Linked DNA regions of Homo sapiens: regions 2, 3, 4, 5 and 6 are each linked to region 1. Evidence: promoter capture Hi-C in human tissues and cell types (Jung and others, 2019). All regions are on one chromosome and are shown on one strand. Each heading gives the region's core, a stretch centred on a gene start or on the middle of the fragment in contact. The rest is flanking DNA. Distances are from core to core; before and after follow the strand shown.

Region 1 (3,666 bases), core at 832-3,331:
AGAACCTGAAAAATGAGCTCAGGCCAGGAAGGGACGGGGATTGGACATGGCTCATTATACCCACCTCCCTTTGGAGTTCAGGTGCAGCTGACCAGACTGACAGCAGACTCCATAGCAGCAAGACACCAAGTTCCAATCTGACGCTGGTATAGCATCACGTGACAACAGGCCCTCAAAGTATCAATGTATTTTACCCCAAAATATATCTCTTTGACAAATTTTGAAATGGCCCCGCAAAGCGGTGTCTTGTGGGGAAATTCATATTCTGTAGACTCCCCTTCCCTTTCCAGCTCTTTTTCTGATCCTGAGGAGACTGGCTGAGAGTCTAGTGCCTTTTGAAGGTCTGAATAGGAAACATTTGCCATGTATTGCCTCTGAGGGCGGACACCTATGAGATTTCATCCACATAATAAGGACCTCGGTCTCCACAGCCCCTTCTCTTAACCCAGACACTCCTTTCTATTGATTCCAAGCCTTCAGATAGTAACTTCTTTCAACCAACTGCCAATCAGAAACATCTTTGAATCCACCTATTACCTGGAGGCCTTTCCACTTGGAGTCGTCCTGACTTTCTGGATCAATCCAATGCACACCTCACATGTACTGACTGATGTCTTATGTCTCCCTGAAATGAATAAAACCAAGCAGTAAAACAACCGCCTTGGGCCAAGTTCTCAGGACGTCCTGAGGCTGTGTCATGGGTCATATTTGGCTCAGAATAAATCTCTTCAAGTATTTTACAAAGTTTGGCTTTTTTTGTAAACAATAGGCAGATATAAATTCCATTTGCTAATTTTTTTAAATGCTGTGTCTTGGTTCATGAAAGACATTGGTCTGTGGTTCTACTGTCTGGTGATGTCTGACTTTGCTATCAAGGCAATGCTGGCCCATACATCGAGCAGGGAAGTGCCCCTCCTCGTCCATCGTCTGAGTGGCTGGATTCCTATTATTTCTTCTCTAAGTAGGATTCACCAGCTTGGCCCTCTGGGCCTGGAATTTTCTGTGTGAGAAAATTTGATAACAAATTGATCTCAAATTTAACAGATAATAAGCATTAGTATTTTCTTTTTTGGTAACTGGCATCCTTCAAGAAATTCGTCCAATTATACCGTTTTGGGGGCTGCCTGCACTAGAGTCAGCGTGGCGTCCCCTCAGAAGGCCGGGTTTGCCAGCGCCGCGCCCCAAGCCAGGTCGGTCGGCCAGTGCTGGTGCCCTCGGGGAACAGCGGGAGCTGCCTGGAGGCTGCGGGGAGCGGCGGCGGCGGGCACGCACCTGGCTCCCGAAACCAGACCTTTAATAACGCCTCGCAGAAGGGGCGGGGTGGGAGGTTGGCAGCGCAGGGGCGGCAGCCCCGGATCCCCCCAGGTCTCCAGATCACCCCATCGAGCCCCGCGCCCTAGCAGCACAGTCCCTCCAGGGCTCCTTGGAGGGCCAGGCCTCAGCCCGGGTGCCCCCTCGCCGGGGCTCCAGGGTTGGGGGCACCCAGGAGGCCGCAGGTGTGGAGCTCGACGGCGCCCCCCGACTAGAAACCCAGGCTCTCATGCGCGGCTCCCGCCCCGACCCCAGCTCCAGAGGGGCGAGAGCACCCGGCGCCGACCCCGTCTACGGACCCCCTCCTCCGCCCCGCCCCCGCCGTCCAGCCCTCCCGCCCCTACCAGCCCCGGGCCTCCTCCCCACGGACCCGCCCCGCGCCACCAGCCGTCAGCCCTCCCGGCCCCCAGTCTCGCGTACCCTCCCCACTGGCCTGCAGGGTCCACCGACTTCCCGACCCCGGGACCTCCCGACCCCCGGACCTCCCGGCCTCGCGGACCCTCAGGAGCCCCTGCGTGGGCTGCGCCAGGGCGCCCGCGACAGCACCGCCGCGAACCACAGCCACGGCCTCCGGGTCTGCAATGGAACCTCTAGCCGCTGCGGTCAGGAGGGCGGAGACTCTGCGCACGCGCAGTTCCCCCTCCCGCCCCTGCTTGCCGGTGATGGCGCATAACGCATGCGCGGGGAGGGCGGAGCTGGGCGTTGCCGTGGCTACTGGGAACGCATTTCACGGGGGCGGGGCGTGGTTCCGGGGCGGGGCGCGGCCGCCGGAAGTGCGTGGCCGCCCGGGGCCATGGCGACACTCAGCTTCGTCTTCCTGCTGCTGGGGGCAGTGTCCTGGCCTCCGGCTTCTGCCTCCGGCCAGGAGTTCTGGCCCGGACAATCGGCGGCCGATATTCTGTCGGGGGCGGCTTCCCGCAGACGGTAAACGCGCGTCCACGGTGCCAACGCTGGGGTTCCAGGACCGGGCAGGGTCAGAGGATGGGATGGGGGCGGGGCGGGGTCAGGGGCCAGGGAGATGGGATGGGGTCAGGGGCAGGCCCACGGGATGGAGGGTGGTCCGGGGCCAGGGAGATGGAATGGAGCGGAGTTATGGGGCAGGGGCCAGGGGGATGGGATGGAGCGGGGTCAGGGGGCAGGGGTCAGGGGAATGGGATGGGGTCAGGGTTCTGGGGCAAGGAATGTGGCGGAGTAAGGGGCCAGGGTGATGGTATAGGGGCAGGGGGCAGGGGCCAGGAGGGATGGGATGGGGGCGGGGCAGGGATCAGGGCGATGGGATGGGATGGGGGCGGGGCAGGGGCCAGGGTGATGGGATGGGATGGGGGCGGGGCAGGGGCTAGGGCCAGGAGGGGTGGGATGGGATGGGGGCAGGAACGGGGGCCCGAGGGATGGGATGGGGGCGGGGCGGGAGCCGGGGCCAAGAAGGATGGGACGGGGACGGGACAGGGGCAGGGGCAGGGGCAGGGGCCGGGGCCGGGCTGGAGTCTGGGGGATGGGATGGGGCGGGGGCTGGGGGCAGGGTCGGGCCAGCGGGTTGGCTGTAGTCGAGGCTGCGTCACTGCGGCCCGGGTCTGCAGGCGGGGTCGTCTGCGAGGCCCGGGGCGCAGCCTCGGGAGCCCAGGAAGGGGGCCGGGTTGCTCAGGCTGAGCGTGGGCTGGCTCCGGAGGCCCCTGCAAGTGACACGGGTCCAGGCCTGGGTGTGCGGAGCCGGGAGTCAGTGCCGGGCGGGCGCTCCGCAGTGAATTCTCAGGGCCAAGACGAGCTTCGCGGCCGCCCTGTGGCTGTGGGATCTCCAAGCGGACCCCGGGAGGGGCCTGGACGCAGAGGTGTGCACGGCCCCTCGTGGCGTTCGCAGGCCTGGGCGCTGCACGCAGCTTCACTCGCGACGATGGGAGTATGGAAAACCAGCGCAGAGCAGGGAAAGGAGAGCGCCAGGGACAGGGTTTCTGTAGCCCTTGGGGACTTGTCTGTGCCTTGGGGACTTGTCTGTGCCTTGGGGCGCTTTGTGTCCTTCCTCTAGGGCAGTGATCTTAAAGTGTGTCCTGGATCTCTGAGCTTTTGTAGCCGTTTTAATAGTAGTACCAGAGTATTATACGCCTTTTTCACTTCTCATGAATGCACTGTGGAGTTTTCCTAGAAACCACTTGATCTGTGATGTCACAACAGATTGAATGCAGAAACGGGTATGGGAATCCAGCTGTCACCAAACCCAAAAGAGATTTGCAAAAATTAAGAACATCATCACAGTTCTTCTAATTCATTTTTTAAAATACACTTATTTTTTATTTAAATATGTGGTTTTTGTTAACATGTAATGGCTTCTTATTTTTAGCTGAATTAAATACTTGTAGCTTT
Region 2 (3,666 bases), core at 657-3,156, 410 kb after region 1:
ATAACGAGAGGTGGCACCATAAGCACTGCACAGGAAACCAGCTGGAGTTTCCAAAGATGGGTCCTCCCTGAAGGAGAAAGACTTGTTTTGGATGGACGATTGCCTATGAGTTCTCTTAAGTGACAAAAGACTGTAAGGGAAAATCTGGTTACTCAAGAAGAAAGTTTAGACATGTCAAATTGAACTCAGCTCCAGAGCCTGGCCAGTTTTAAGGATTACAAATTTTGCTTAAGCCACGATTCGCTGCTTCTTTTCAAAGAGAAACTGCTTTCCCCTTCTCCAAATCTGAAGGACAAAAAAGGTTGCAAACTTTAGCAAGACGAACAAAACCTTAACCTCGAAGGATAGTGTTAACCACACACCTGCAAACAGCTGACTCTTTGGAGAAATAACAAACGAAACTCTTGCCTTAAAACCAAGCCTCAACTCCAGCCCTATCAGGTGTGGACCTGGGTAGGCGGAACAGAGTCTGAACCTCAGCCCTGGGAGGCTGCCAGAGACCCCGGCCAGGTTCCCAGGCGGTCCGGTGAACCAAGGCCGCTCCGCGGGTGCCAGCGCTCCGAGTGCCAGAGAAGTGGCTCGGATCACAAGAGGCTGGCTTCGGAGCCATCTGCAGGCGCCCAAATCCCAACCTAAAATCACCACAGGGTCAGAATCTAATGTAAGGGGGGGTTATTCAAAGGCAGTTGGAGGCTGGCCCACCCGGAAACACCGGCTCCAGAGGAATGGAGTCCGCCCTCGGAAGCGGGGAGGGGAAGGGTGCCCTCGGGCAGGCAGAGGCGGAGGCTTTTAGCAGGACCGCGGCGTCCTTCCTACGAGGTGGGCGCAGTCCTCGCGTTTGATGGACGACGGGCAGTGCCTGCTTCAGGGAAGGGTGCGGCAGTCACGGTTTCCCGTCTTCTGGTCTAAGCAGTGCAGAAAACAGGGAAGTTCATCTACAAGGGTCATGAACTAAGAAGGCAGGAGGTTTCTGTCCCCGGCACCGGCGAATCCCGGACCCGAGAAAGGAGCTACGGGCGCACAGAAGCGGGCGGCCCCGGCTCTCGCGGGGCTTAAAGCGCGCAGTGTGTTCGGGTTCACACCTCTAAATGTATTTTTGCCATTTCTTAAGTAGCCTTAAAAATGTCCGTCACTATTTAGTCCTTTTATCAACCGAGGGGCCCGGAAGGCCGCAGCGAGGGCGTCGGCGAGAAGCCATGGAGGAGAAACGGCGCTTCTCTCGGGAGTTTAGGTGGCAGCTTCAGCAGCACACGTTTCAGCCCATTCTGGGGCCGTTTCTAGTGTGGTTAACGTACAAAAATAAACAAATCCCCTAAAAGTCCCACGCGGACATCGGCGGGAGCCCAGGGCCGGACGCCGCGGTGTGGAGCGAGGGCGCCGGCGCGGACTATGAGGGCCCACCGCGCCTCGTCCAGGGCTCACTTAAGAGCAGCGTGAGCAGCGCTTGGGACCGCCGTCCGGGACGCCCGCAGCCCTTTAGGATGGAGGCCACCGTGACCTCCGCCACCGAAGCACCGCGCTCCCCTAGTCCCCTCAGCCGGTCGCCGTTCCCCGCCGCGCAGGCGCAGGAGCCGCGGCGAGCCCCTCGGTCACGCCTCGCCCCTCGGTCACGCCTCGCCCCTCGGTCACGCCTCGCCCCTCGGTCACGCCTCGCCCCTCGGTCACGCCTCGCCCCTCGGTCACGCCTCGCCCATCCGCGCCGCGCAGGCGCACTGAGCCTCAGCCGCTCTCCTCGCTACCAGGCTCCTTTCCTCTATCGCGCAGGCGCACTGAACCTCAGCCGCGCCGGGAGGCGAGCCCGTTGGCGAGGGGCGGGGCAGATGGCGAGGGAGCGGGGCGAGCTGCTTTTTGAGGCTGCGCACTCGCATGGCCCCACCTCGCAGGTCCACTTCCGGCGCCGCGGCTGTTCCGGGCGGAGACCGCTTGTGCTGGAGTCGGAGTTGTAACGCTCCACTGACTGATAGAGCGACCGGCCGACCATGGCGCCCGGAGTGGCCCGCGGGCCGACGCCGTACTGGAGGTTGCGCCTCGGTGGCGCCGCGCTGCTCCTGCTGCTCATCCCGGTGGCCGCCGCGCAGGAGCCTCCCGGAGCTGGTGAGGGCGCCGGGGCGGGCGGGGCCGCGAAGGGGGCGGGGCGGCTGGTGGGTCCAGGTCGGGGTCGGGGTCGGGGTTTCGGCCAGGGCGCTGGGCTCGGCGGGCGGCCTGGGCCCACGGTCGCAGGCAGCGCCCCGACGGAGGCTCCTCGAGGGTCACGCCCGTTTGGCGGCCGCGGGAGCTGCCGTCGCGGCTGGGGCGCGGGCAGGGGAAGAGCCGTCTTTGTCTTTGTCTTTGTTTTGTCCAGTCGCTGCGGCCGCTCCTCGCGCGTGGCCTCGGGTTGGCCCTCGCCCGGCAGGCGGGACGCTTGGCACCTGCGGCCTCCCTTAGCCTCACTGCGACCCCAAACAGCACTCCTCGGGTTCGATCCCGAGCCGGGAAGCCGGCTCACGACGTGTTCGAGGTCGCACAGCTGGTCGGGGGCAGGCCGGGATGGCGGCCGCAGGCCCCTGCAGGGTGATGGGGCCGCGGCCGGTGTGTCTCTACAGCCGCCGGCGTTCACGCCGCCACTCCCTCCCGGCCGCAGTTCCACGCACAGCAGCGAACGCTCGCACTTATGCCTTAGAAAGGAAGGCGTCCCCAAAGCCAGGCTGTAGCATCTGATTTTGAAGCAAGCTGATTGCGGTTCTACGCTGTCCAGACGCGCAGGTGGCATTCTTCATCGTTTATCCCGTCTGCACCAGGCCCTGCGGCCACAGTGGTGACCGACAGCCAGAGCTCCTATCCAAGAGGAGCTGAGTCCCCGGGAGGCTGACCAAGAAAGAAGCAGTGAGGGCGCGGGGGCTGGGGGAGGAAAGTGCATGACAGGAGACTCAGAGTTCCAGAAACCGGCAGTGTTTATAGAGGGTGGCTTCCTGTGGGGCTGGGCCTCCAGGGCCTGGTGGGCTGCGGGAAAATCCAGCAGGTTCTAAGCTGGAGAGTGTCATGGTTGGACCTGTTTCACAATGTCATGCTGGCTTCCGTGTGTGGAGTTTCCAGGTGACCACTAGTGGTGGGGAATAGTGCCACCTTAACTTCAGTTTCCTGACCCTTACAATTAGGGTTGACCTGGGCCCAGCTTGAGGGGCTAATACTTTTCTCAGCTCTTGTTAGCCCAGGCTCTGTCAGTGTCTGTTTAGCATAGTAGAGCACCTTTTCTTTTTGTGACCTTATGGAATGTTTATTCCGATGCAGGATTATTTGTGTTTCTTCTTACCTGCCTCCAAGTGTGCTTAGGGTTTGTGACGTTAGCAATGCAGCTGCCTTGAAGTTTGTTAGTCAAGGAGGCCAGTGGGACTGTACTGGGAACTTTTGGCCCAGATTGAGTTCTAAGCGCAAATGTGCAGTGAATACGTTTCCACAAACAGAATGGGCGTCTGCAGGCAGAGTGTGTGATTCACTGGCAACTGTATCAGTGGCTCGGGGGTGTGTTTGCTTGCATTGTGAAAGCGGGAGTGTCAGGAAAACAACCATGAGGTTTTGTTTGACTGTGATTCCTCCTGCTCTGCACTGCTGAAGGGTGCAGAGATGGGTGTGGACGAGTGGAGTGGACAGTGTGGGAATTAATCCGGAACTGCCATTCGGTGTGTCAGC
Region 3 (3,666 bases), core at 512-3,011, 370 kb before region 1:
GCAAGATGTACTTTGTATGACAATAACAGCACAAAGGAAGAAGGAGGGAATGGAGATATACAGAAGCAAAGTTTCTGTATACTAGTGAAATTAGACTGGTACTAATCCAAACTAAACTGTTACAAATTGCCAGTAGTAAGACCCCAAGTAACCCCTAAGAAAATAAAAAATAGTAAAATAAATGAAAATATCTATTTAACACAAAGTCAGTAATGGAGTAATAGAAAATTCAAAAAGACATTGCATAGAGAAAACAAGAAGCAAAATGGCTGGCATAAATTTCACCTTGTCAAAATTGCATTAAATGTAAATGGATTAAACATTCCAATATAAGCACAGAAATTGTCTAAATGGATTTTTTAATGATTCAGTTATATGTAGTATACAAGAAAGACACTTAAATACAACGAACAAATAAGTTAAAAGCATGGAAAAATATATACAATGCAAACAGTAACCAAAGGAGAGCTTGAATGGCTATATTAACATCAGAAAAAAACGGTCTTTAATACAAAAATTGTTATTACAGACAAAGAATATTTTATAACTATAAAAAGGTCAATTCATCAAGAAGCTCTAACAATTATATACATATATATACATATATATATGTGTGTGTGTATACATATAAAATAAAGCCCCAGAATGCATGAAACAAAAAATTAAGAGAAAAAAGGGAGAATCAGACAGTTCAACAGTAACAGTTGGAAACTTCAAAAGTCCGTTTTCAATACAGGATGGAATGCAAGACAGAAAATCAGAAAGAAAACAAAAGATTTAAACAATACTAATAAACTAATTAGACCTAGCAGACATTTATAGAATTCTCCATTCAAAAAGCAGAAAACACATTATTCTCAAATACACATGGAACATTCTCTAGAACAGACCAGGTGTTAGCCAAGAAAATAAGTCCCAAAATTTTAAAGGATTGAAGTAATATAAAATATGTTCCCCAACCACAAGGGAAAAAAATAGAAATCAGTAACAGATAAAAATTTAAGAAATTCAAAAGTTTGTGGAAATTTAACAATACACTGCTAAATAACCAGAGTCAAGGGAGAAACCACAAGGGAAATTAGAAAATACTTTGAGATCATTAAAAATGAGGCCAGGCACAGTGGCTAACGCCTGTAATCCCAGCACTTTGGGAGGCCATAGCGGGAGGACTGCTTGAGCCCAGGAGTTCGAGACCAGTCTGAGCAACATGACAAGACACTGTGTCTCACAAAAAATTAAAAAATTAGCCAGGTGTAGGGGAATGCACCTATAGTCCCACCTACTCAGGAGGATGAGGTGGGAAGATCGTTTGAGCTCAGGAGACTCAAAGTTGAGGCTGCAGTGAGTTGTGATGGCACCAATGCACTTTAGCCTGGGTGTCAGACCAAGGCCCTGTCTCAAAAAAAAAAAAAAAAAAAAAAAGGAAAGTAAAAGAAAGCACAACATATCAAAACTTATGAAAGGCAGTAAAAGCAGTTCTTACAAAATTATAGCTGTAAACACCTATGTTAAAAGAGAAATATCTCAAATCAATAACCTAACGTTCTACCTTAAGAAATCAGAAAAAGAGCCAACTAAACCTTTGCAAGTGGAAGAAAGAAAAAAACAAATATTCGAGCAAAAATGAAACAGAAAATAGAAAAACAACAATGAAACCAAAGTTTTTTTTTTAAAAAAAGACCAATGAAACTGACAAACTTTTATCTAGAATGACCAAGAAAAAAAGAGGGAAGACTCAATTTACTAAAATCAGAAAGAAAACTACCAACCTTACAGAAATAAAAGGACTATAAAGAAATATTATGAACAACTGATGGCCAATAAATTAGATAACCTAGGTGAAATTCACAAATTCCTAGAAAGACAGAAACTATCAAAACTTAAAAAACAGTACATCTGAAAAAAACCTAAAACAAGTAAAGATATTCAGTATTTTAAAAATTTCCCACAAGGAAAAATTAGAAACAGATGGCTTCACTATTAAATTCTATCAAACATTTAAAGAATGAACACCAATCCTTCACAAGGAGAAACGGACACTTGCCAACTCATTCTATAAGGCCAGTATTACCCTAATACCAAAACCAGACAAAGAGATCACAAGAAAACTATAGATTAACATGTCTTAAGAATACAAACTTAAAAATCCTTAACAAGGCTGGGTGTGGCGGCTCATGTCTGTAATCCCAGCATTTTGGGATGCCAGGGCAGGCAGAGCACTTGAGGTCAGGAGTTCAAGACCAGCCTGGCCAACATGGTAAGACCCTGTCTCAACTAAAAATTCAAAAATTAGCCATGCATGGTGGCACGCACCTGTCATCCCAGCTACTCAGGAGGCTGAGGCAGGAGAGTCGCTTGACTCCAGGAGGCAGAGGCTGCAGTGAGCTGAGATCGCACCTCTGCACTCCAGCCTGGGTGACAAAGTGAGACTCCATCTCAAAAAATCCTCAACAAAACACTTGCAAAACCGAATCCACCAATATATAAAAAGGATTATATGCCATGACAAGTGGGATTTATCTAGGGAATTCAAAGTTGGCTCAACATACAAAACTGAATCAATGTAATACATGACATTAATATAATAAAGGACAAAAATAACAGTATAGATGCAGGAAAAGCATCTGACAACATTCAACACGCTTTCATGATAATAACACTCAACAAAATAGGGATAGAAGGGAAATTCCTCAACCTAATTAAGGGCATCTATAAAAATTCACAGCTACCTATACTTACTGGTGAGAGGCTAAAAGCTTTCCCCCTAAGATAAGGAACAAACAATGATGTCCACCCTTGCCACAACAATTAAACATTGTGTTAAAGCTTATAACCAGGGCAATTACATGAGAAAAATTTTAAAAAGGCATGCAGATTAGAAGCAAAGAATTAAAAGTATCTATATCTGCAGATAATATAATCTTGCATATAAAAAATCCTCAGGAATCCACTAAAAAACTATTATAGCTACTAAATCCTATGCTCATGGATTGGAAAACTTAATATTGTTAACCTGACAATACTCCCCGAATTATCTACAGATTCAATTAATCCCCATCAAAATTCTACCTGCCTTTTTTTTTTTCCAGAAAGTGACAAACCAAACCTAAAAATCATATGAAAATGCAAGGGACCAGGAATAACCAAAATAAATAAAAAGACCAAAGTTGAAGGACTCACACTTTCCAATCTTAAAACTTACTACAAAGCTACAATAATCAAGACTGTGTGCTGCTGGCATAGAGAGAGACATATAGGTCCATGGAATAGAGTTGAGAGTTCAGAAATAAACCCATATTTTATGGTCAACTGAGTTTTGACAGAAGTGCTAAGGCCATTCAATAGGTAGTCTTTTGAACAAATGGTACTAGGACTAGACAGCCACAGGCAGAAGAATGAAGTTAAACTCCTCCTTCATACCATAGACAAAAATTAACTCAAAACGCACCAAAGACCTAAATTTCAGAGCTAAAACTATAAAACCCTTAGAATAAAACGGAGGTGTAAATCTTTGTGACCTAGGATTAAGCAATGTCTTAAATATGACAAAGCACAAGCAACAAAAGAAAAAAATAGATAAATGCAGTATTACCAAAATAAAAATCATTTGTGCATCAAAGGATACTATCAAGAAAATGAGGCTGGGCACGGTAGTTCACACCTGTA
Region 4 (3,666 bases), core at 326-2,825, 340 kb before region 1:
CTGACATAGAAGATTAAAGACGCTCACAAATTCTTTGACAGCCCTCCCATCAAAAGGTGAAACCTGTGTTCCTTGTCTTTGAAACTGGGCGGGTTCTTTGGCCAATACAGTATAGTAGAAGCAATGCTGTGCCATTTCTGGGGTCGACCTTCAAATTCTTCCCTCTGGGATTGCTCACTCTGGGAAAAGCCAGCCAGCACATAAGATCCAACTGTGCTGGCCTTACCATGCCGTGAGGAAACCCCAGCTGGACAAAGGGAGGGGCTTCATAGAAGGAGAGATCCCTGCAGCAGATACAGCGTCCCAGTGAAGAAGCTTTCAGACGATTCCAGCCTCGGCCACCATCTGACCGCGTCCCAGTGAAGAAGCTTTCGGACGATTCCAGCCTCGGCCGCCATCTGACCGCATCCCAGTGAAGAAGCTTTCGGACGATTCCAGCCTCGGCCGCCATCTGACCGCGTCCCAGTGAAGAAGCTTTCGGATGATTCCAGCCTCGGCCGCCATCTGACTGCACCCATGTGAAGGACCAACATGAGAACAGAACACCGGGCTGATCCTGCCGGCCCCCAGCACAGTGAGAGATAACACATTGGGGTTTCAGGCCACTAAGTTCGTAGGTGGCTCCTTATGCTGCATTAAACATTTATGACAGTATTTCACAAAGCACCTGCCTTGCACCCAGAGACCTCTTCAAGGTAAAGAAGGTCTGATGACGGGCACTTGACCATGGAATTCACTGGCGTTACCACAGACCCATCACCCAGAAGCAGTCAGCCTACCAGTGAAGGGAGACTTGCGAATGGCCCGGCATGGGCGGCAGCTCTAAGAAAGCCTGGGCCCGTCTGGCCCAGGAACTGCACTCCAGGACGTAGGATCCGTGCTGAGCCCATGGTCAGGAAATGATCCCGTGTCCCTGGGACCTTGCATACAAAGCTCTGAGGACCCCAGGGACAGAAGCCAGTTTGGCCCCTCCCCAGCACACACGGTGAACGGCTTGCATGGCTGTGCTTCCTGGGGCTGAAGTCTGAGGCTCTCTTGGACTGGAACCCTTGACCCCCTGGTTGAGGGGAGGCTCCTGCCAGCGTACACAGGTTGCTGCAAGACTAGAAGCCATGACCACCATTTGGCCACTTTGGCCTCCTCGTGCCAGTGGGCAAGCCACACATGCACTTACCGTACCTGTGAAAGGGCCAGGCTCTGAACACCATGGAGATCTCTGGGGTTGGGGGGGTGCCAGGCTCAGAACACTGTGGAGATCAGGATGAGGGGGCCAGGCTTCGAACATCATGGAGATGGTGGGGGCCAGGCTCCGAAAACGGTGGAGATAGGGGTGGGGGGGCCAGACTCTGAACAACATGGAGATGGGGAGTGGGCAGGCTCTGAACACCGTGGAGATCGAGGCTTGCTTCTGTACCACGGGGCCAACGAGGGGAATGCCTGCAGCTGACAGCTTGCTGGGGCACTTCGGGATCTGCACTGAGTGGCAGCTGTAATCACAGCAACCATGGCCCATCCAATGCAGGATGACCGAGGCCTGGGTGCCATGGGGCGAACAGTTCAGACCAAGGCTCAGCTGAGGGAGGCCAGTCTAGGATGTGGGGAGGGCAAGGAGAGGATAGTATGGGGTTTGGCCCCAGGATTAGCGGTGTCAGCAGGGACCATAGCCTGATGCGGCAGCCCTTTTAATGGCTTTTCAGTAGATTACAACCAGAGAACCCCTGGAGAAATTGCACTTGCACCACCCCTCAGGAACCAGGGCTGTCCATTCCCGGGTGAGACACGTGGGGTGGGCTGTCATCGGTTCCAGGGCCATCCATTCCCAGGTGAGACACGCAGGGTAGGCTGTCATCAGTTCCAGGGCCATCTGTTCCTGGGTGAGACTTGCGGGGTGGACTGTCTCGGGTTCCGTTCAGGTCACTGAGGCTGGCATGGTCGTCTTGCTGTCGGGCTTGAGCAGCGATTGCGAACGTCCCTCCCGGCTCCTGCATGCACGTCTCGGGTTCCGTTCAGGTCACTGAGGCTGGCATGGTCGCCTTGCTGTCCGGCTTGAGCAGCCATTGCGAACATCCCTCCCGGCTCCTGTGTGCACAGCTAGGTGGCTGCTGTTGCTCCTGCAGCCATGGCCAGTTCCTGGGTCCCTGGAGAGCTGTTTCTGGGCCCACCCATCAGGTATCAACAAACCCAACAACACCCAGCTCCGATAGCGCTGGAGGCCTCTTGCTTAGTTTCTCAGGGCTCTCTTATTGCCTGTGATGGGGGAGATGCATCGGAAGCTGTCTGCCACCTGCACGCAGAGTCTGAGGTGAAATGAGGCCAGCAACAGGAACTGGCATGTCCGCCCTGTCCCACTCCTCTCCCTGCTCCACTGATCAGAGATGCAGGAGCTTCACGCAGTCCCTGAGGAGAAGCATGGAGCCAGACGTCAGCCGGCAGTGGACAGTGACCTCCCTGAGAGTCACCTTCCTCCCTTTCTTGCCTCAGTCCCCTCTTCCCACTCCTGTTTCCTGGGATTGCACTCCCCAGAAAAATACAGGCACAAGACTTTTGCCTCAGGTTCTGTTTGCTCAGGGAGCTAGGCTAACAATATACAAACACCATAATAAAGTGTTGGCTATCCAGCCTTGTTCAAAAGAAAGAAAGATACAGAATCATGGTGTCGGAAAACAGAGACAATTTGACTTCCTCTCTTCCTATTTGAATATGCTTTATGTCTTTCTCTTGCCAATTGCCCTGGCCAGAACTTCCAATACTATGTTGAATAGGAGTGGTGAGAGAGGGCATCCTTGTCTTGTGCCAGTTTTCAAAGGGAATGCTTCCAGCTTTTGCCCGTTCACTATGATATTGGCTGTGGCTCTGTCATAAATAGCTCTTATTATTTTGAGATATGTTCTGTCGATACCTAGTTTATTGAGAGTTTTTAACATGAAGGATGTTGAATTTTATCAAAGGCCTTTTCTGCATCTTTTGAGATAATCATGTGGTTTTGTCTTTGGTTATATTTATGTGATGGATTATGTTTATTGATTTGCATATGTTGAACCAGCCTTGCATCCCAGGGATGAAGCCGACTTGATCATGGTGGATAAGCTTTTTGATGTGCTGCTGGATTTGGTTTGCCAGTATTTTATTGAAGATTTTCACATCGATGTTCATCAGGGATATTGCCCTGAAGCTTCCTTTTTTTGTTGTGTCTCTGCCAGGTTTTGGTATCAGGATGATACCAAAAGAGTTAGGGAGGATTCCCTCCTTAAATTTCGAAAACCCCATCGTCTCAGCCCAAAATCTCCTTAAGCTAATAAGCAACTTCAGCAAAGTCTCAGGATACAAAATCAAAGTGCAAAAAACACAAGCATTCCTATACACCAATAATAGACAAACAGAGAGCCAAATCATGAATGAACTCCCACTCACAATTGCTACAAAGAAAATAAAATACCAAGGAATACAGCTAATAAGGGAAGTGAAGGACCTCTTCAAGGAGAACTACAACCCACTGCTCAAGGAAATAAGAGAGAACACAAACAAATGGAAAAACATTCCATGCTCATGGATAGGAAGAATCAATATCATGAAAATGGCCATACTGCCCAAAGTAATTTATAGATTCAATGCTATTCCCATTAAACTACCATTGATATTCTTCACAGAATTAGAAAAAAAAACTTT
Region 5 (3,666 bases), core at 621-3,120, 290 kb before region 1:
ATCCCAGGGGCACCGACATCCCAGGGGCAAGCACATCTCAGGGGCACCCGCATCCCAGGGGCAACCGCATCCGAGGGCTGCCCGCATCCCAGGGACACCCCCATCCCAGGGGCAAGCACATCTCAGGGGCATCCGCATCCCAGGGGCACCTCCACCCCAGGGGCGCCTGCATCCCAGGGGCACCCCCATCCCAGGGGCACCTGCATCCCAGGTGCACCCCCATCCCAGGGCACCGGCATCCCAGGGCCACCCGCATCCCAGGGGCACCCCCATCCCAGGGGCACCCACATCCCAGGGCTGCCCGCATCCCAGGGGCACCCCCATCCCAGGGGCACCCCCATCCCAGGTGCACCTGCATCCCAGGGCTGCCCGCATCCCAGGGGCGCCCCCATCCCAGGGGTACCCGCATCCCAGGGCCGCCTGCATCCCAGGGGCACCCCCATCCCAGGGGCACCCGTGTCCCAGGGCCACCCGCATCCCAGGGGCGCCTCCATTCCAGGGGCACCCCCATCCCAGGGGCACCCCCGTCCCAGGGCCGCCCACGTCCCAGGGGCGCCCGCATCCCAGGGGTACCCCCATCCCAGGTGTACCCGCATCCCAGGGCTGCCCTCATCCCAGGGGCACCCCCATCCCAGGGCCACCGCATCCCAGGGGTACCCGCATCTCAGGGGCACCCCCATCCCAGGGGTACCTGCATCCCAGGGCCACCCGCATCCCAGGGGCACCCGCATCCCAGGGGTGCTGTGCACAAGAGGTGACCCTCTCCTCCCCCGGAAGCACTCCTCTCCAGGAACTGCAGGCCAGGGTGGAGGGAACCCTGTCTGGATTGGGAGCGGGGCAGGGGGAACCCTGTCTGGATTGGGAGCGGGGCGGGGGGAACCCTGTCTGGATTGGGAGCGGGGTGGGGGGAACCCTGTCAGGGCAGGGAGGGACCAGGGCTGGGAATGCACATCGTGGCAGCTGGAGTCCTGATTCGAGTGGAGTTTGGCAGAGACACCCTGAAGACGCAGCACTTGAGTGCAGAGCTCCAGGCTGAGTGGGAGGGATGTGGGTGCAGGGTGGTGATTGGACATCCAGCCAGTGCCAGGGAAAAGTCCCATCAAAGCGACAGACTCTTTGTACAAACTGGCTCAGGGCCAGCTCAGGTTGAAAGACAAACAAGAGGTGAGCCCCAGGCTGCCCAGGCAGGCGGGTCTGATGCAGAGCTCGCGGGTGTCTGGCATCCAGGCACTCGGGCCAGAACCTGCAGCAGGTTCAGAGAGAGACAGCTGCGACGCGTCCTCACACCTCCACCAGGAAATCGATTCTGGGGTTCGGAAAGGAGGAGTGGGCCTGCGACAGCTACCCACACAGGAGCCCCCGTGGCTAAGGACGGGCCAGAGTCACACGGCGAGGACACTCACCCACCTCTGCCTGCTGGCCTCGCTGCCTGCCTGGGGCGCGTGCAGGTCCCGAGTGGAGACCACACCAGCCCCAGTCCCCCAGGCCCCTCCCAGGCTCCCTGAAGGGCAGTGAAGGCTCAGGAACTTTCCAGGCCATGCCAAACCTTCTTCCCCACCTTGGGTGTGAGACCACGCACCTTCCCCAAAAGCTAGTGCAGACATCACGGTCACCACTCACATGACCCCAAGTGCAGACTTGGTCACTGTCACCACTCACCTGACCCTGGGGAGTCCAAGCACGTGCAAAGCTCACCTCCAGCCCCATGGCGGGGCCTGGCTGTGCCCTAGCTCCAGGCATCCAGGGTCACGTGGGCAGGATCTGAGGGTCAGATCAGCAACCCTCCACCCACCTGCCACGGGGCTGTGCAATGGCCAGCTGTCGAGGCCCTTTCCTAAGCCGGGATGCACCCCACGCAGCCCACCCGGGCCCCCTGAGCAGGTGGATTGTCCTGCCTCTCCTGCCTGTCACCCGGTGGTCCTCCTGCCCTGGTTCTCACCACCGGAGTCGCCAAGCTCCTCCAGGTCCTTCAGGGGCCCCCAGTAGCCACCTCCCTAGTCACCCCCAGCCTCCCCCAGGCCAACTCAGAGCCCACAACACTGTTGTAATTACTTTTAAATCATAAGAAAAGAAAAAAGAAATTTTAGATCAAATAAAATGTTTTCATATATAATATTAGCACATTTGGGCTTCTTATCAACACAGACGTAAAACAGGATTTTTGATGTTTTGTGGAGGGAGGGCCCACAGAGGCAGAGTGCTTGCCCCATGGCATCTTGTGTCCTGGCCGTTGGGCCACGTGGCTTCCCAGCTGGGCAGGACCCTCACCCTCTAACTCCTGGGGCTCACAGCCTTGGCAACTTTGAAACCTCATGGGTCCAATTGAGCGTCTGGATTCTTGTTGAACGGAGTTCAGGAAGGACTTTCTGATTCCGTGAAATCTTGCGGATCCGGCACAGCTGCCCTCTTCTTCCTGCCGAAAAGTGCCAATCACTCCCTGGTGTGGTGGAGCTGCCAGCCAGCTGGGTGGCTTGTGGCCCAGAGCCAGCAGCACTAAACAGAGCCCCCCACCCTGGGAGTGCCTGGGGGGCTAGTGAGGAGGCGTCCTCAGCAGGGGTGTCTGCACAGCTGAAGCCCCTCCAAGGAGTGCCCAGGCAGTGCCACGTGGTCCAGAGAGATGTAACCCCTGGGCCAGAAGCCATAAGAGGCAGGCAAGCACTGCTTCCTGCGAGGTGAGGGCTGCTCGCCCAGACCACTGCAGCCACTGGCAGGAAGGCACGGGCTGCCCTGTGTCAGGGGTGGGATGGTGCATGGGCCCGGGTCGCTCTGACGGGTCCTCCTCACCGTGAGAAGGGATGGCATCATGTGTTCAGAGGCGTGAATCAGTGTCAAGCATTGCTTGGTGCCGTGGCACGCTTTCCTGTACAGCCCGAGGCTGTCTGGGGAGAGGTGGGAACTGACCTTTCGTCTCTCTCTGCAGCATCCCTTGCCACGGGCAGCTCCCCAGATGCCACCTCTTATTCCCGGCCCCTGGCCCTGCCCCAGGGGGAACTCAAGGGTTGTCTCACCCTCAAAATCGACCTGTAGGTTGATGGCCCCGAAGACCCATGGAAACCAGGAGCATACCCCAGGCAGCTTCAGCCTCATTTTGGAGGTTCCAGCTGAGCTGAGCCAGCAGCTGAACAAGCTCACAGGCCCCGCAGTGTCCTTCCCAGGTGGTTCCGGGGGGCGCACCTTTCCCTGGCAGGGACCGGGGGCTGGGTGGGGCAGAAGGACAGCCAGTGTCTCTGAAGAAGGAGAGAAGACTTTTATTGTCAACGAGAGGAAGACGGAAACAAAGGACAAAAAAAGATGTTATTGGTGAAAGCTTGGGGGGTTCAGCCAACTTCTATTTCTAACAAATGAAGGACAAGAAAAGGCTTAATCAGCTAATGGAATACAGGCTGGGCCGCTAACGCGGTGTGAGGGGCCAGGGAGATGGCGTCCATGTTTGAAATATAAATCAGCTGTGAAGGCACCAGTTTGCCAGGGAGAAACCAAGCCATGACCCCAGAGCTGCTCACAGCACCGGCCCTGCAGGCAGGGGAATGAGCTGGGCCAGGGTGCCACGTGAGGGGGCAAGGGGGCAGGGCAGGGAGCTTCGTCCCAGGGTCCTCCTGCATCTGCAGCTCACGCAGCTGTAGACAAGGGCAGGATGAGCAGGGGCGCCGGGCAGGGGCCTCCAGG
Region 6 (3,666 bases), core at 615-3,114, 280 kb after region 1:
ATGTCCAGTTTTCAAAAAAGAGTTTTAGAGATATACAAAGAAATTTTAAGAAGTCTCAAACATGGGGAAAAAAGCAAACAATAGAATCTGTCCCTGAGAAAGCCCAGAGATTAGAGTTACGGACAAAGACTTTAAATCAGTTGCTTTAAATAGGTCCAAAGAACTAAAGGAAACTATGTATAAAGAGCTAAAAGAAAGTATGAGAACAGTGTATCACCAAGTAGAAAATACAACAAAGAGATGTAAATTATTTCTTTAAAAAAATTCTGGAGGTGAAAAGTACAATAACTCAAATGAAGCTTTCATTGTAGGGGCTCACCAGAAATTTGAGCAGGCAGAAGAATGGACAAACTAGAAGACAGGTCAGCCTGTCCAGCTTGAGAAACAGAACAGCAGCGAAAACAACATGAATGATGAAAAATGAACAGAGACCTTCAGAGACCTCCGGGACACCATCAACCACACAAACACACACATCATGAAGTCCCACAAGGAGAGGAGACAGAGGCAAGGGAAGAAAGAATATTTGAAAAAATAACAGCCAACTCAACTTTGATGAAAACATTAATCTACACATCCTAGACGCTCAACAAACTCCAAGTAGAATAAACTCAGAGAGACCCACACCCAGACACATCATAATCAAGCTGTGAAACGTGAAAAGCGGAGAGAATTCTAAAAATAGCAAGAGAGAAGGGACTCATCTCATACAAGGAATCCTAAATAAGATTAACAGATGACTTATTAGAAGTCATGAGGCCAGAAAGCAGTAGGATGACATATTCAAAGTGCTGAAAGAAAAAGACTGCCAACCGAGAATTGTATAATAGTATAGCTATCCTTCAGGAGTGAAGGAGAAATTAATACAAATAAATAAACAAAATAAAATGATAAAATATAAATAAAATTATATAAATACCATGTATTATATATAAAACTATATATATTAAAAATTCTAAATATAAATACAATATATATGTGTGTGTGTATACATACTATATATCAATATTTTTAACAGTTTTTAAACAAAATCTGAGATAATTCATCACTAGCAGACCAGATAACTACAAGGAGGTCTACAGGCTGAAATGTAAGGACACTAGACAGCCACTCACACCAACTTGAAGAAATAAAAACATTAGTAAAGGTAACCATGGAAGTCAATACAGAAGACGGTGTGAATGTATTTTTTTAATCTTGTATGCTTAGACACAGAGTTACCATACGTGTTAAGCTGTTTTTATGGAGCTATAAATACCTGAGACCAGGTCATTTATAAGAGAAGAGGATTAAGTGGCTCACAGTTCTGCAGGCTGTACAGGAGCATAAGGGCTTCTTCCTCTGGGGAGGCCTCAGGAAACTCTTACTCATGGTGGAAGGTGAAGGGGGAGCAGGCGAGTCACGTGGTGAAAGCGGGAGCAGCGGGGTCGGGGAGGTGCCACACACGTTTAAACACCAGATCTCACAGGAACCCAGAGTGAGAGCTCACTCTTCACCACGGGGATGGCTCAAGCCATTCCTGAGGGAGTCACGCCCGTGACCTAAACACCTGCCCCCAGGCCCCACCTCCAACACGGGGGATGACAGTTCAACACGAGGCTTGGCAAGGACATGCGTTTAAACTGTATCACCATATAACCCGGGAAGTCTAGGCCCGGGCTGATACTCAGGACAACTGAAAACGGGTCCGCACAAAACTTGTGAATCAATGTTGATCACCGCGTTATTCATCATAGCCAAAAGATAAAATCAGCCCAAACGTCCGTCCGCTGATGGACAGGTTAAAAACGTGGCCCATCCCTGCAACGAAATGTGGCCCAGCCCCGAGAGGCATGAAGTGCTGACGGGTGGAGCGACACGGAGGAGCCTCAGAAACACCCACCATGCTGCTGCCCGGAAGAGGCAGGCACGGAAGGCCACGCGCTCTATGACCTCATCCATGGGAAACGCACAGAGGCGAGGCCTGCCCGGGGCTGGGAGGAGGGGGCACAGGAGCGCCGGCTGTGGGGATGGTGTTTCTCCCGCCGGGGGTGGCTGGCTCACCCTGGCACTGCACCGCAGTGGGGGTGGACCGGATGCCGCTGAACTGCCTGGACTTTCAAGAGGTAAATTCCGAGGTATGTGAATTACATTTTAATTTAAAAACATTCTGTGAGAGCCCATTTTTGTTAAAGATGCCATCTATGCTTAAAAGCCTGCACCAATGCCAGGCCGTACCACTGTGGGCCCTGGTGCCTCCACCCAGGAAGCAGTCCAGCTGCGAGCCCAGGCCAATGGGGCCAGCACGGATGGGAGGGGGCGTGGAGGGGCCCACAGATGCTGCGGCCCAGCCTGGCCTGAGAGGGGCCACCTCTGTGCTGGGGCTCCCAGGCACCCACCTCCCGTGGCAACTCCTGGCTCCGGTCCGCTCCCAGCCCTTCTGTGGCTTTGGAGGCTGAATCTGCCTGCATCTGCCATTGATTTCCAATTCCAAGGATGTTGTGTTTACAGTGTAGTGAGATGGGTTTGTGTTTCTGCAGGAGATTCTAGAAGCCAGACCTCGGAGTGGGGGAGGTGCTAGGCCTCCCTCCCACCTGGATAACCTGACCCGGAGCCTGGGGAAGCTGGCTCGGCACCCCCAGCCCTGACCTCTCCTCGTGGGCCTGGCACGGCAGGCTCTGGGCACAGCCAGGACCCCCAGGGCCTCAGTCTAGCCCCTCATTTTCCAAGGAGGCAACCGAGGCCCAGCCAGGCTTTCAAGGCTGGGCAGAGCCAGCCTGGAACTCAAGTCCCCAACAACTCCCAGTCATGGAATGTTGTACAAGAGGATTCTGGCAGCCAACCCTGACATCTTTAAAAATGTTCTTTCTGGCCCTTAACTACTGGGGCACCACAGTTCCTCGGCTGTCTGTCTTTGTGCTGGGCTGTGCCTGGCTTTGTCTGTAGCTGTCAGTCCTATTTTGTCCGCTAGGAACAAGGCCAGGGCAGCCTCTGTGATCCCCTCGAGCTGGCCAGTCTTCCCTGACCCTTCCCTCTCGGCCCCTGGCCTTGCTGTAGTCATGTCCATGGACACCTCCTGCCCACCCTGGCGGGCACCACTGTGTGGACACAGTCCTGGGAGGGGTGGGGGGCACCACTTTGGGAACGGAGGGTCTGAACTCTGCCCTGTCTTTGAGCCTTTGTTTTCCTTGTGTGCAGACGAGTGCTCCAGCCAGGTCCTCTCCAAAGTCTCGGCCCCCTGCCTGGTGCAATCTCTGCCTGACAAACCCGGCCCCCCGAAGTGCTCTCACTCCTTCAAGTCTCATTTTGTTAACAGGGGGCTGTTCTTGTGGAGGGTCCCACACCCATTGTCTTAGCTGACCCCACAGCAGGCAGGTGGGGAGGGCAGGGATCTTCTGCCCACTCTGAGGACAAGGAGACAGCCTGGAAGGGGTGGCTGGAGGGTCTGGCTCTGTCCTTTCCGCTGCGCTGGGCCAGGAGCAGGATCCCAGTTGCCCGACTACCCTGTAGTCCACACCTGGAGGATGCTGTCACTCATGAGTGCCCCGGACCTGGGGCGCTGTCCTGGCACTTAGCACCCCTTCCAGATGAGGGGGCAGCCCAAGCAGGCACCTAGCAGGTGGGAGACAGAGCTGGGCCTGGCACCAACCTGGCTTCCTTCGAGGCTTTATGGGTCCCGGGGGCATC

Evidence for each region. Contacts are between HindIII fragments. The study calls those that stand out against the background at their distance.
Region 2: a contact is called between the fragment with the promoter of PTTG1IP here and the fragment with the promoter of POFUT2 in region 1, in 2 of the 25 tissues and cell types used here (dorsolateral prefrontal cortex and lymphoblastoid cells).
Region 3: a fragment that was not itself captured here is called in contact with the fragment with the promoter of POFUT2 in region 1 in 1 of the 25 tissues and cell types used here (spleen).
Region 4: a fragment that was not itself captured here is called in contact with the fragment with the promoter of POFUT2 in region 1 in 1 of the 25 tissues and cell types used here (spleen).
Region 5: a contact is called between a fragment that was not itself captured here and the fragment with the promoter of POFUT2 in region 1, in 2 of the 25 tissues and cell types used here (H1 embryonic stem cells and mesendoderm cells).
Region 6: a fragment that was not itself captured here is called in contact with the fragment with the promoter of POFUT2 in region 1 in 2 of the 25 tissues and cell types used here (H1 embryonic stem cells and thymus).

Annotation. Positions count from the first base shown.
Region 1 is chr21:45,286,310-45,289,975 of GRCh38, reverse strand. It overlaps POFUT2 (protein O-fucosyltransferase 2), which reads left to right and starts at 2,081. Exons shown (of 9, transcript NM_133635.6): 1 at 2,081-2,235. The coding sequence starts at 2,105. It overlaps LINC00205 (long intergenic non-protein coding RNA 205), which reads right to left and starts at 1,924. Exons shown (of 3, transcript NR_026943.1): 1 at 1,732-1,924; 2 at 538-625. RefSeq lists an enhancer at 740-1,470 and a silencer at 1,625-2,154. The HindIII fragment of the contact is 23,447 bases long and covers 1-3,666 here.
Region 2 is chr21:44,871,930-44,875,595 of GRCh38, reverse strand. It overlaps PTTG1IP (PTTG1 interacting protein), which reads left to right and starts at 1,906. Exons shown (of 6, transcript NM_004339.4): 1 at 1,906-2,094. The coding sequence starts at 1,980. RefSeq lists enhancers at 949-1,626, 1,784-2,284, 2,285-2,785 and a silencer at 1,543-2,192. The HindIII fragment of the contact is 14,261 bases long and covers 1-3,666 here.
Region 3 is chr21:45,657,094-45,660,759 of GRCh38, reverse strand. The region is part of intron 1 of PCBP3 (poly(rC) binding protein 3); the gene reads right to left. Among named protein-coding and RNA genes, the nearest start is that of PCBP3, 15 kb to the right of the region's middle. The HindIII fragment of the contact is 6,952 bases long and covers 1-3,666 here.
Region 4 is chr21:45,627,848-45,631,513 of GRCh38, reverse strand. No RefSeq gene overlaps it. Among named protein-coding and RNA genes, the nearest start is that of PCBP3, 14 kb to the left of the region's middle. The HindIII fragment of the contact is 3,110 bases long and covers 21-3,130 here.
Region 5 is chr21:45,576,113-45,579,778 of GRCh38, reverse strand. No RefSeq gene overlaps it. Among named protein-coding and RNA genes, the nearest start is that of LINC01694, 16 kb to the left of the region's middle. RefSeq lists an enhancer at 339-840. The HindIII fragment of the contact is 5,985 bases long and covers 1-3,666 here.
Region 6 is chr21:45,002,895-45,006,560 of GRCh38, reverse strand. PICSAR (P38 inhibited cutaneous squamous cell carcinoma associated lincRNA) reads left to right here and starts at 1,834. Exons shown (of 2, transcript NR_024089.2): 1 at 1,834-2,117. RefSeq lists an enhancer at 3,212-3,666. The HindIII fragment of the contact is 7,508 bases long and covers 1-3,666 here.